Linked DNA regions of Homo sapiens: region 1 is linked to region 2. Evidence: promoter capture Hi-C in human tissues and cell types (Jung and others, 2019). All regions are on one chromosome and are shown on one strand. Each heading gives the region's core, a stretch centred on a gene start or on the middle of the fragment in contact. The rest is flanking DNA. Distances are from core to core; before and after follow the strand shown.

Region 1 (2,700 bases), core at 66-2,565, 250 kb before region 2:
CCTGTCTCTACTAAAAGTACGAAAATTAGTTGGGTGTGGTGGCACACGCCTGTAATCCCAGCTATTTGGGAGGCTGAGGTAGAAGAATCACTTGAACCTGGGAGGCAGAGGTTGCAGTGAGCCAATATTGTCCCACTGCACTCCAGCCTGGGAGACAGTGCAAGACTCCATCTCAAAAAAAAAAAAAAAAAAAAAAGACAGCAGTGCTTAGTAAAGGAAGGGGATAGCGTGGGAGAGGGGCTATCTTCAAAGGATTAATGTGGGGTCTTGTGCATTTTGCCAAGAGCTGCTGGCCGTTGGGGAGAGGGGAGAGCTGGATCCCCATGATTGGACTCCGACCCTTTCATAGAGGACCTTCCTGTCCAAGCCCCCTGCCTGGCTTCTAGCGGGAGGGAAGAGGCAGTGGCCGCCCCTTGGGGTGCGGGGCCCCAGACAGCTGGCAGTGCTCACCTGCCTGCTGGGGGCAGGGCTGGACTGTCTTCGGAGAAGTTGGCTCTGGCCTTGGCTGGGCTGCTGTGACCGTCCCTCGTCCTGGGCCTGGAAGGCCCCCGCTGCCTCGGACTTCCTATGAGCAAATGCAGCCACTCCTCTGAGGGACTGTCCCACTCCCAGCACCCCAGCCCCTCTGCTCCCACCTCCAACAGGAGGAGATGTGGGACAGCCAGGGACCCACTGCAAGCTCGTTGAAGGGCCCTAAGTGAGGATGACTCTCAGGGCCTTAGTTTCCCCTTCTGAAAAATGGGGATGGTTAACACTGCTCTATTCTGCCTCATGAGGCTCTTGCGAACATGACGAGAAAAGTGGGGAGTAGAGGCGGTTGGGTGGGGAGGGGGATCTGGCCCTGGCCATGGCCCTCTCCTGTCTCATCCAGTACTTCCTATGACTAACCACCACCCCACCAGCAGCCCAAGAGCCACCCCCAGACAAAGGTTAGACTGGTCTTTGCGGGAATTAAGATTTATTGAGCACCTACTGTGTACCAGGCACTGGGCACACATAATCATTATGACAAAGCATTTATTGAGTGCTTCTTATGTTCCAGGGGCCAAGCACTTGTATCATGATCGCAGCCCACGAGGTGGGACGACAGAGCCAGACTGCTGTGTGCCCCCGTGTTCCATTCTTTCTGCCTTTTCCTGTCCATATTGTAAATTTTGGATTTCTTTTCCTTTTTCCCTCCCATCACTGTTAACCAACAGAATCCCAGCGCTTAGCCTTGAAAACTCCAGGCCATCCTAGCTGTTGGCAAAAGAGCTCTGAGCAAGATCAGAAGAAAGAAACATTCTCCCTGACAACTTCAGAGAGGCCAACATAAACTGTCCAAGCAAGTGTCTTTTTTTTTTTTTTTTTTTTGAGATGGAGTCTCGCTCTGTCACCCAGGCTGGAGTGCAGTGGCGCGATCTCGGCTCACTGCAACTTCCATCTCCCGGGTTCAAGTGATTCTCTGCCTTAATCTCCCAAGTAGCTGGGATTACAGGCATGAGCCACCACGCCTGACCCTGGGCAAGTGTTGTTTCTAAGACACTGGGCTTCAGGCATTGTTGACGCATCCGATGAAGATCATCTCTAACTTGTGTAAAAAGTCTAGTTCCAGTTAGTTGTCTTGCTTACTAACTGGGAGGCATGGCTGTTAATGATTAACGTGGTATCTCTATTGACAGGTAGAAACACCAAACAGAACCTGGGCATATCTCTCCCTTCCTCTACCTAAGGGGTCACAACAAAAGGCCCAACCACTCCATGAATGTTTATTTTGGTTGGGTCTCAGTTAGCAAATGGAGCCATGTCTTTGGTCGATGAACTGAACCAGGAAGAGAAGCCTGAAAAAGGCCACCCTGTGGTGGACCCAGAGTGAGGCAGCAAAAAGGGAAGTATGAGGAAACTCTGCTCAGGCCTCCATAGGCCCTGCTGTCTGTGGTGGGCCTGTGCCTGAGGAGCCATGCTGGAACGACACCTTCAAAAGTATGGGATTGGGCAGGGCGCAATGGGTCACGCCTGTAATCCCAGAACTTTGGGAGGCTGAGGCAGGCGGATGGCTTGAGCTCAGGAGTTCAAGACCAGCCTAGACAACATAGTGAAACCTAGTCTCTAAAAATACAAAAATTAGCCCAGGTGTGGTGGCTCATGCCTCTAATCACAGCACTTTGGGAGGCTGAGGTGGGTGGATCACTTGAGGTCAGGAGTTCGAGACCAGCCTGGTCAACATAGTGAAACCCAATCTCTACTAAAAATACAAAACTTAGCCAGGCGTGGTGGCACGTGCCTGTAATCCCAGCTACTCAGGAGGCTGAGGCAGGAGGATCGCTTGACCCCAGGAGGTGGAGGTTGCAGTGAGCTGAGATCGCGCCACTGCACTCCAGCCTGGGTGACATAGTGAGACCCTGTCTCAAAAAATATATATATATATATATGGGGTTGGGAGGCCAGGTACAGTGTCTTTACACCTGTAATTCCAGCACTTGGGGAGGCTGAGGTCAGAGGATCACTTGAGTCGAGGAGTTTGAGACAGCCCTGGCAACAGAATGAGACCTTGTTCTAGGAAAAAAAAATTTTTTTAATGAGCCGAGCATGGTGGTACGTGGCTGTAGTCCCAGCTACTTGGGAAGCTGAGGTGGGAGGATCGCTTCAGCCTGGGAGGTTGAGGCTGCAGTGAGCCATGATCATGCCACTGCATTCCAGCCTGGGTGAAAGAGCAAGATC
Region 2 (2,700 bases), core at 115-2,614:
AGGGCCACTTCCCTTTGCCAGCCACCTGGTACTTTGTTGTGTTGAATTAACATTGATTGAGTTCTTGTCTGCCGGTCACTGTTCTAGGCACTGGGGATTAGGGACTCAGTGATCAAAAAATAAATCCTGCCCTGATATTCTCATGAGGAGGACAGAAACTTAGTTAAACATACAGAATGTTGGAAGATGAAAAGTGTGATGAAGAAAACAGTGAAGTGGCTTGAGAGGGACAGGCCTGGGGGGCTGGGAAGGAGGCGGCGAGGGGTTGCAATGTTAATAACGTGGTCAGGGAAGGCCTCACAGAGACGGTGACCTTTGTGTAAAGACCAGAAGGGAGTGGGGGAGTGAGACGTGCAGGTCTCTAGGGAGGGGCCCAGGTGGGAACAGCAAGTGCCAAGGTCCTGTGGCGGCCAGGTGCCTGGGCCAGCGAGGGTCCCAGGTTCTGGAGTGGAGCAGGGTGAGTAGCAGGAGATGGGGTGGGAGTAACTTGGGAGCCAGCTCACGCAGGGCCTTGTGGGCTGCTGTGTGCGTTTTGGCTTTTGTTCTGAAGAAAATGGGAGCCAGTGCAGGCTCTGAGTGGAGGAGGGAGGAGGTGTGAGTGAGCTTGTGCGAAACAAGATGGAGGTGGTGGCTGGAGAAGGCCCTCTGTCTGTCCACTGGTCAGGTGCTGGGAGAGAGGCAGCTCCAGAGACTGCGGAGTGAGGTCGGGTATGGGCTGGGGCACAGCTGGACAGGTGCCCTCAGGGGACCTCCTGTGAACTAGATGAGGAACAGAGACCTGGGTTCTGCCAGCTCTGCGGCTGAGTTGCTGGATCGTTTTTGCTCATTCTGTGCCTTTGTGCCTTATGTCTTCAGCTATAAACTGGGAACGACAGTCCCAGTGCTGTTGTGAAGACCTCAGGAACTGAGCGAACAACTGTGGGAGCCCCAGAGGTTAAGAGGTTATCACGGAAGGCTTCCTGGAGGAGGGAACCCTTAAGCTTTGAAGTCCAGATAGAACTCAGCCTAGTGGAGGGAATGTGGGTGAGGCTGGTGGAATATGGGAGAGCATCCCGGAGGAAACCTGTGAGCAAAAGCTGGGGGCTGGGTGAAGCAGGACACCAAAGTAATGGGTGTTGAATGGGCCGAGCTGACAGCTCTCTGGGGGAGTGGACGGTGCTGGAGGACACTCCCTTCCACCGGGCACGGAGGGTTTGTTGTGACTTCCTCCCACCGCAGCAGCTGGCAGAGCCGGGGCTGCCCTTTCTGCTGGTGCCTCCTTTCAGCCGCCTCTGTCTGGGGTTCCCTTCGTCTGGCCCCGCCCCTCGGGCTAAGCGGGGCGGGGCCAGGCGGTCCCGGAGGCTGCGGCAGGCCGGACAGCGGGAGCAGGTGGAGGACTGGCGGCGGTCGAGATCGTGCTGCCATGGCTCAGCCTCTGGGTCCAGAGCCTCAGCTCCTACCTCTTCCCTCCTTGCCAGCCCCTGATGCCTGCCAGACTTTTGCCTCTGCTGGAGCCCCTGCCTGACCAGCTTCCCCTCCCTGTCTGGTTGGGATTTGGGGGCTGAGCTGTCTGGGGTCCCAGGGCCAACCAATGCAGTGCCGGCTCCCGCGGGGCCTGGCTGGAGCCCTCCTCACCCTCCTGTGCATGGGGCTCCTGTGTCTGCGGTACCACTTGAACCTGTCCCCGCAGCGGGTACAAGGGACCCCCGAGCTGAGCCAGCCGAACCCGGGGCCCCCTAAGCTACAGCTACACGATGTCTTCATTGCAGTGAAGACGACCCGGGCTTTCCACCGCTTGCGCCTGGAGCTGCTGCTTGACACGTGGGTTTCCAGGACCAGGGAACAGGTGACAAGTGGGTGACATTGGGCCCTGGGGGTGGCCCCTGGCCTAAGGGGTTCTCAGAGGCCTTTCTACTGGGCTGGGGTCCCTGACTGCCTCATGGGAGAAGCTGCTCAATACCTGCCTAATCAGGGATCCTCTTCCTCTCTCCTTCTTCCGGGCTTTAGGGGCTGCCTGCGGCCCTGCCCGTGCCCTGTACTGGTCCTGACTCCAGGTGCACCCAGGTCCTACCGCTCCACCACTTTTGGGGGCCAGGCTGGGCCCCTGCTCCAGGCTCCCGGGTCCCTCCTGGGGGTTCTTCTATTCCTAGCCGCTCCCGTGGGGGCTTCGCTCCTAGCCACCCAGGCCCAGCCTGGCATCAGGGGTAATGGTGGGTGTTGGGCAGCTGGGGTGGAGGCCTCCAAGAGGTCCTGACCCAGACCCGTGCCCAGGCCAGGCTGTCCCACCCAGGCCCTAGGTGCTGTCCTGCCCGGGCTCTGAGGGTGGAGGACGGGAGGAGAATGGTGGGGTCTGTTCTTGGGGGAGGCATCCCTTCGGCCTTCCCGATAGCCCCTGCCGCTGTGTCTCTGCTGCCCCGGGTGTGCCGAGGCCGCCATGTCTGGCCTCCTGTGTTGGCTTCCTGCGGACTGCTTCCGAGGGAGGGAAGGAGAGCGCATGCCACGAGGGTGGCGGCTGAGGCAGTGGTGGGCCGGAGGTTGGGGAGGCCTGCCTGGCACGTGGGATTGTGTGTGTGTGTGTGTGTGTGCTCACACGCACGGAGCTGGAGTGTGCTAGATGTGTGTGACAAGAGGCATGTCTGTCACATGGCTGTGCGGCTCCGGCGAGCCAAGTCCCTTCCAGCCCTTTCCCTCCTCGCATCCAGTATCTTCCTTAAGCAAAGT

What was found. The method cuts DNA at HindIII sites, captures the fragments that hold promoters and counts their contacts. A contact is called where the count stands out against the background at its distance.
Region 1: a contact is called between a fragment that was not itself captured here and the fragment with the promoter of MFNG in region 2, in 1 of the 25 tissues and cell types used here (spleen).

What each region holds. Positions count from the first base shown.
Region 1 is chr22:37,731,163-37,733,862 of GRCh38, reverse strand. It overlaps TRIOBP (TRIO and F-actin binding protein), which reads right to left. Exons shown (of 24, transcript NM_001039141.3): 8 at 451-565. Among named protein-coding and RNA genes, the nearest start is that of TRIOBP, 35 kb to the right of the region's middle. The HindIII fragment of the contact is 6,403 bases long and covers 1-2,700 here.
Region 2 is chr22:37,485,048-37,487,747 of GRCh38, reverse strand. It overlaps MFNG (MFNG O-fucosylpeptide 3-beta-N-acetylglucosaminyltransferase), which reads left to right and starts at 1,364. Exons shown (of 8, transcript NM_002405.4): 1 at 1,364-1,825. The coding sequence starts at 1,571. RefSeq lists enhancers at 1-471, 472-983, 984-1,493, 1,970-2,019, 2,420-2,479 and a silencer at 1,270-1,399. The HindIII fragment of the contact is 15,221 bases long and covers 1-2,700 here.